2 separate regions of the Homo sapiens genome follow, and region 2 is linked to region 1. The links are contacts of gene promoters, found by promoter capture Hi-C in human tissues and cell types (Jung and others, 2019). All regions are on one chromosome and are shown on one strand. The core of a region is centred on a gene start or on the middle of the fragment in contact, and the rest is flanking DNA. Distances in the headings are between cores, read along the strand shown.

The links. The method cuts DNA at HindIII sites, captures the fragments that hold promoters and counts their contacts. A contact is called where the count stands out against the background at its distance.
Region 2: a fragment that was not itself captured here is called in contact with the fragment with the promoter of GPRASP1 in region 1 in 1 of the 25 tissues and cell types used here (aorta).

Annotation. Positions count from the first base shown.
Region 1 is chrX:102,649,679-102,653,458 of GRCh38, reverse strand. GPRASP1 (G protein-coupled receptor associated sorting protein 1) reads right to left here and starts at 1,976. Exons shown (of 6, transcript NM_001184727.2): 1 at 1,864-1,976; 2 at 1,726-1,772; 3 at 1,194-1,284; 4 at 561-628; 5 at 161-238. The region is part of intron 4 of ARMCX5-GPRASP2 (ARMCX5-GPRASP2 readthrough); the gene reads right to left. The HindIII fragment of the contact is 5,623 bases long and covers 1-3,780 here.
Region 2 is chrX:102,694,356-102,698,135 of GRCh38, reverse strand. All of the region lies in intron 4 of ARMCX5-GPRASP2 (ARMCX5-GPRASP2 readthrough), which reads right to left. Among named protein-coding and RNA genes, the nearest start is that of GPRASP2, 16 kb to the left of the region's middle. The HindIII fragment of the contact is 7,384 bases long and covers 1-3,780 here.

The DNA of each region.
Region 1 (3,780 bases), core at 727-3,226:
CTCTGGACCGGCTGCCTCCTATTAAACAGGTCCAACAATGGTGGGAAAGTGTGTCGGCAATGGGAGGGGCCAAGAAGTCCCCAGATTGGACCCTAAGCACTCCCGGACCCATGCTGGTCTCCACTACCCCGCCCAAAAGTATACCCACTCTCATACCAACCTTCACTTATGTGGTGCAGTTTCCCCCTCCTTTTCTTGTTCAAGTAGTGTCAAGCCCCACAGCTGACAGAAGGGGGTCCTACAGACAAGTAAACATACAGGAGAGAATGGAGAATGGTAGATAGGCAAGCACTCTGGCTCCTGTGACAAATATCTGTCTTCCCATTCAAGGGTTCAATGTATCTATGGTTTCCTGTGTCCTGGTCCCTGCTCTCAGGTCTTTCTGAGTCACAACACAACCTACACCTATCTCATGTCCCCTGCAAGAAATAAAAAGGATGCTGGCACTGTGCAAATCCAGCAGAGTAGAAGTGGGTCTGCACCCACTGGTCTCAAAGCCACCTGCCATGCTCTCTTTCTCCAACTGTCCCCTGAATTGCCCCCTCCCCCTTCTCACCAACCTCCAGAGGTGTGAGCCAGTCTCCTCCTCCTTGCCTTTCTTGCAGAACTGGCCAGCCTTAAAGCAGGCCTATGGACAAACAGATGAAAAAGTAAGACAGGAAATGAGGGGTGGCAGTAAAGCCCTTGGTAGAGAGACCAACGCTAAGGATAAGAATCCCCATATTATTGATATCTGTCTTTCAACATTCGGGGTTTTGCTGGTGGAATATTCTCGTTTTGTTTAGGCCCTGCTTCAAGGTTCTAGAGATAACAACTCCTTCTCTTGACGTCATACTCTTCTCATTACTCCCTTCTCCAATTCTGAGGATTCACCACTAGGTGCGCCACATCCCCTTGCTCTGCGCAGCAGAAAATGGGGGAAGGGCGCCACATATTCTAGAAAACAGGTCGTGAATTGGTACTTGTCAGTATGTCTCCCTCATCACCCCTACCTCCAAAGCTCACCCTTTCAAGCCCCCAGTTTAGGACGGTGGGGGAGGCAGATGGGGATGGAAGGTGGGGGAAGCGCCTGGAACACCATTAGAGAGGGGAAGATTAAGAGGTGCTCCTGGATGCCTGACCTGCTCTGGTCGCAGTCCCCCACCCCGATTCGGTTCTCCAGTGTTTGGCACCCACCCCACATCCCCACACACCTCCAGAAATCCAGGGAATATTCGTGCTCCTCCTTTATTTCAAGCCTCTCCTCTACAGATGCTCACTGTGTCCTGTCAGAATACGCCAGACCTACCGCGCAGACAGACTTTGACATCAACCTGGAGTCTGTGGGAAGGGACAGCACCCAGGACACGGGGCCCCACAGGCCCCTTTCCGGAATCAGGGCCCGGAGCAGCGAACGCGACCCACCTCCCACGGGCTAGGCACAGAGCTGGGACGCTGGCCCACGAGGGCCCCCCCAGGCGCCCCCCAACTGCCTCCCGGGCGCCCCCCAACACGGCTCCCGTTTGGCCATTTCTCCCGCAGGAGCCTCCCCCACAGCCGTCTCTCGGTACCGAAACCGTCGAGGGCTGCGCGCGGGCGCCTGCAAAGCTGGCTGGGAAGCGGTCAGCGCGGTTCTCCTCCAGACGATCTGACGGTGCCTCTGGAGCCAGCCCCTCAGCCCTTGGTCCGGCCTGGCCCGCACCAGTCACCGCCTCCCCATAGCCAGGGATCTCGGGCACTGCGCACCTCTCTCTAGCGCCCGGCTCCGAACGGATCGTCTCCTCGTTGCCAGGCTGTCAGGGTCCGGGGGGCAGGTTGCCAGCCGGTCCACCCTGGCGGACCACCCCCACACCACGGCCCCCCACCTCACGCACCCCTACTTGCCTTCAGAGGCCCAGAGCCCAGGTCATCGGCCTCCCCCTCCTCTCTTCAGCTCTCCTCTGGCTGCTCTTCAGTTGGATTCCCACCGCTTTCCCAGCGATCCGAATGGCAAAGACGAGTCCCGCCCCCCACGCCTCTGCACCAAACTGGGCAGGGGCTGCGCAGGATGCGGCAAGAACCGCTCTCCGCGAGGGTGTCGGGAAGGGGGGCGGAGGGATACGGCGCGAAAGTGCAGGACGCCCCCCCTCACAGAACCACCATAGTTCCGACCCAGAGGTGGGCGGGGCCAGGACGAGCCCCAGCCGGGGCCTGCGGGTTGGCACCAGGCTGCCTCAGGAGGACCCCGCGGACCCTAACGTGGCGACGACCACCACATTTCTGGCGCTGCTATAATATATGGCACCGGCGGGCGGCTGCGGGGCCGGGCGGAGGACAGGATCGCGAGGTCGCGAAGAGCCGCGCTGGAGGGAGCAGCGGATGGATACCAAACCGTCCCTTGGTGTGTCTGCACCCCCGCCCCAACCGCCCCCCTATAAGGACTGCTGGGTGTTTGCCCTCTCCCCCTCCCTAGTCTGCTCACCCTCCTTCCTGGATGTTAATGGGAGAGGGGGTGTCAGCACTGCAGTGTGGGAGGGGAGAGGCGATTTCAGTCCAGACAGGCCCGGGGTTCTAGGGTGGTCGTCCTGTGCGTTTCTTTCCCAGCTTCGTGGAGCCACGCAGGGGAGGAAGGTACACCTGCTCTTAAGTGAACTCCGGGGCAGGGGGCTCCCATCAAGGACTCACCACTGCCCCTCTTCTAAAAGAAGGTAGACCTAGACCTCTAACCCTAGGAAACCAACCACTGGTCTGCACCAGACTCATTTCTTTCTGCCACACCGCTGTTTCTCATTTCAAATGGTGGCTCACGTTGGCATTGCACCGTCCCCACAGTTGCCCCCAAAAGAGGACCTTTCCCTGTCAGGACCCGCAGGAGGTCATAACAGTCCTCTCTCTTTGATGCCGCCAGGTAGGGATGGTCCTGGCTTCTCTTCGGTTCCCTGTCAAGTCTTCTCTTGCCATGATATTTGGCAGTGTGGAAATGTGGCTGGTATCAAACCAGCTTGGATCTCCGCCACCTGCCACAACTACCTATTGTTTCAGCAGTCATTCTCAGGAGAGGATCCCACCGTGCACCCCCCTCCCCGAGACAAAGCAACCTGGCTCATTTGAATCCTCTTCTTTCACCCCCACATCCGTCCTCTACTCTTGAGCCCCTCCTTTCCCTGCTTCCTGCATGGGACAGACAGAGCAATGTGGTTAAACACCAAGTTGATGTTGTTACTGTTGTCCATTTGAAAACTCATTTAGACACTACCCTCATTGTGTTTGGCAGGTAACGGTCCCCTAAAGATGTCCATGTCCTGTTCTCCAGAACATGTACCATTTTATATTACCTGACAAAGGATCATTAAGATTGCTATTCAGCTGAGTTTAATTTAAGATTATTCTGGGTTATCTTGGCCAATGTAATTGCAAGGGTACTTTAGATGTGGAAGGCAGGGACTCCATGTCAGATTGAAGCAGCATAGAAAGTCTACACTGGTCATCGTTGGCTTTGAAGATGGAAGGAAGCCAAGATCCAAGAAATACAGGCTGTCTCCAGAACCTGGAAAAGACAAAGAAACAGATTCTTCCCTAGAAATGCCAGAGGGATAGCTCCTCTGGCAACATCTTGATTTTAGTGTGGTGAAGCCCTTTGAAGATTTCCAACCTTCCAGGACTGTAAGATAATAATAAATTGGTATTATTTTAAGCCATTCCATGTATGGTAACTGGTTACAGGGTAGCAGCACCAGACCTATCTGGTTTAACTTTTATATAACAAAGTTGTGCATTGTCTTTCAGTTGCCGGGGACCCTCAGATCATGTTACCTGAGCATC
Region 2 (3,780 bases), core at 932-3,431, 44 kb before region 1:
GGGTGGTGGATATCTGTTGTGTAAGGCAGATATCTGGATTGACCACATTGAAAAAGTGGGAGGAAGTGGAGAATTAGGTGATTAGGCCCTGCCTTTGGTATGAGAAAGTTAGAAGGTTAACCCTATATCTAGGGTGGATGCCAGAGCAACATGAAATTATAGGAATTGACTACAATGGTTCTTTGTGACTTCTTTCACTTAGCATAAGGCTCTTCCCTGCTGTAGCATTTATTAGTACTTCATTGCTTCTTACTGCAGAAAATTATTCCATTGTATGAATATAACACATTTTATTTATCTCTTTAGCAGTTGATGGAAACTTGGGTTGTTGCTATGTATTATCTATCATGAATAATGCTGCTATGAACATGTGTGCACAACATTTTATGTGGACATATGTTTTCATTTCTCTTGGATACATGCCTAGGAGTGAAATTGCTAGAACATAAGGTCATTTTTTGAAAAACTGCCAGACTGCTTTCCAAAACAACTGCACAATTTTACATTCCCACCAGCAGTGTATGAAGATGCTCATATTGCCATATCCTTACCAACACATTTTATTATCTGTCTTTTAATTATTTTCATCCTAATGAGTATGGAAATGTTTGGGGGTTTTGATTTGCATTTCAGTGATAGCTCATGATGTTAAGCATCTTTTCATGTGCTTACTTGCAATTTTTTGTATTTTCTTTGGAGAAATATTTATCCAGATCTTTTGACCATTTTTATATTGGGTTGTCTTTTTATTTTTGAGTTGAAACAGTTTTTATTCATTCTAGATTGAAGTTCCTTGCTAAGTATATGATTTGAAATATTGTCTCCCATTCTCTGGGGTGGGTTTTCACTTACTTATGTCCTTTGAAGCAGAAAAGTCTTTAATTTCGATGACGTACAGTTTGCCTATTTTTCCCTTTGTTCTTTGTGCTTTGGTGTCATATGTGAGTCACCAAATGTCACAAAGGTCCATAGTCACAAAGATTTATACCATGTGTTTTCTTCTAAGGGTTTTATAGATTTAGCTCTTACATTTAGGTTTTTGAACAATTTCTAGTTCATTTTTATATACAGTGTGAGGCAGGGATTAAAAGTCATTATTTTGCAGGTGCCTGTCCAATTATCCCAACACCATTTGTTGAAAAGACAATTCTTACCCTGTTGTATGGCTCTCATGCTCTTGTCAAACTCAATACATGTGAGGATTTATTTCTGGACTCTCAATACTTTTTCATTCATATTTATGTTTACCGTTATGTCAGTACCACATAGTTTGGATTACTGTAGTTTCATAGTAAGCACTGAAATCAAATAGTGTGAGTCCTCCAACTTTGTTCTTTTATTGATTATTTTGGATACTGTGGATCACTTGCATATAAATTTTGAGAGCAGCTTCTGAATTTCTACGAAAAGGCAGCTGAATTTGGTAAGGATTACACTGAGTCTGTAGATCAATTTAGCTGGTATCAATATTTTAATAATATTAAGTCTCACAATCCATAAACATGGGGTGTCTTTCCATTTATTTAGGTCTTCAATTCCTTTCAACAATTTTTAGAGTTTTCAGTGAACAAATATTGCACTTTTTTGGTAAAACTTACTCCTTAGTTTTAAAAATTATTTTGATGAGCTTGCAGTTATAAAAATGTCATTATTTGTTTGATCATTACTACTGTATAGAAATACAATATGTTTTTGCATATTGATATTTTATCATGCAACTCTACTGAAGTTGTTCATTAAACAGGTTTTAGTGGATCTCCTAGGATTTTCTATATGCAAGATTAATTCATCTGCAAATGTTTATGATATTATGAATCATGTTAACATTATCAGTTAACTTTATCAATTTTTTATGTCCCGTTTATTTCTATCTAATCTAGAATATAAATAGGTTAGATAGAAGCATTAGTTATTAATAAAACATAAATAAAAACCACAATAAGATACCACTTCACACCTAATAGGATGCTAGAATATAAATTTATTTAATTTATAAATATAAAATATAAAAAATATAAAAATATAAATTTATATAAATATATATAATAAAATATACAAAATAAAATGTAAAATATATAATTAATTTATATATAAAATATAAAAAAACTCTAATATATTGTCTTAGTACTTTTATGATTTCAAGATCTGTGTTTAAATCTTTGAACCAATTGGAGTTGGTGAGGATGTAGAGAAACTGGAACCCTCATGCATTGCTGATGACAATGTAAAATCAAGAAAGGATTCCAGCAAAAGGGGTGGGGAAAATCATGACCTGGGTGGTCTCTCTTCTCAGTTGTTCTCTAGAGTTTAACATAGGTACTCTGGTTGATATACTGCTATTAAATTGGAGTCTTTGTGAGGGAGGGGCCTGAAGCTTCCTAGTCTGCCATCTTGCTAATGTCATTCCACTGTTGAGATTTTGTTATCTTCTTTAGTCAGCTCCATCCTCTTTTCTGTTATTGTCACAAATTATAACTTTATACATTGCATGTCCAAAACATACATTAAATATTGATTTTTATGCATTTGCCTTTCAGGTCATACAAAAAATAAAAAAGTGGAGCTACAATCCAAAATTCTAACAGTACTGGCTTTTGTCATTACTTACGTATTTATATTTGCTAGAGATCTTTATCTCTTCATACAGCTGTGAGTTATTGTCTAGTTTCTTTTTGTTTAAATCTGCATGACTCTCTTTAGAATTCCTTGCTTGGCATATCTAGTGAAAATGAACTCCCTCAGATTTTGTTTATCTGAGAATGTCTTAATTTATCCCCATTAAAAAATATTTTTTGGTGGACATAGAATTCTCCGTTGACTCTTCCCCAAGCACTTTGATGATATAAACCCAACACATTCTGGCCTCCAGGTTTCTGATACCAAATTGGCTGACAGTCTTATTGACAATCACTTATATATGATCAGTCACTGCTCTCTTTCTGCTTTTAAGATTCACTCTTTGTCTTTCAATAATCTGATTATAATGTGTTTTAGCATATGTCACTTTGTTTTGTCCTGTTTCTAGTTCATTGAGCTTCTTGGATTTTTACATTCAAGTGTTTTATCAAATTTGGAAAGTTTTTAGCCATTATTATTTTTTGAATGATCTCTCTACCCCTTTCTCTCTCTCTTCTCTTCCTAATATTCCCATAATGTGTAAGTTGGCCTGTTGTTCTGCTGGATCACGTCCCACAGGTCCCTTAGGCTCTGTTCACTTTTCTTCATTTTTTTCCCTTTCTGTCCCTCAGACTCAATAATTTAAAAGGTTCTATCTTCTAGTTCTCTGAATCTTTATTCCGCTTGCTGAAATCAGCTTTTGCACTAATTGAATGTCTTTTGAGTTACTGTACCTTTCAGCTCCAGAATTTCCTTTGCGTTCTTTATTCATAATTTCTATATCTTTATTGATACTGCCATTTTGTACATACACCATTTTACTGTCATTATTCATGTCTTCCTTTAGCATTTTGAGCATATTTAAGATCACAGTTTTAACATCTCTGTCTAGTAAGTCTGGCATCTGTGCTTCCTCAGGCATGTTTTTTTGTTTATTTATTATTTTGTTTCTTTTAATAGGCTATACTTTTGTGTTTCTTTTCATGCCTTGTGGCCTTTTGTTAAAGAGTGCACATTTGAATCTTATGATGTGGTAACTCTGGAAGTCAAATTGTGTATCCCCTTCCCTAAGGTTTTCTGCGGTTTAAAAAATTGTTGTAACATGTCTCTATGCCAGAAATCAGCATGGGGTGGAAGCTTAAGGTCTTCTCAGGTCTTTTCTGG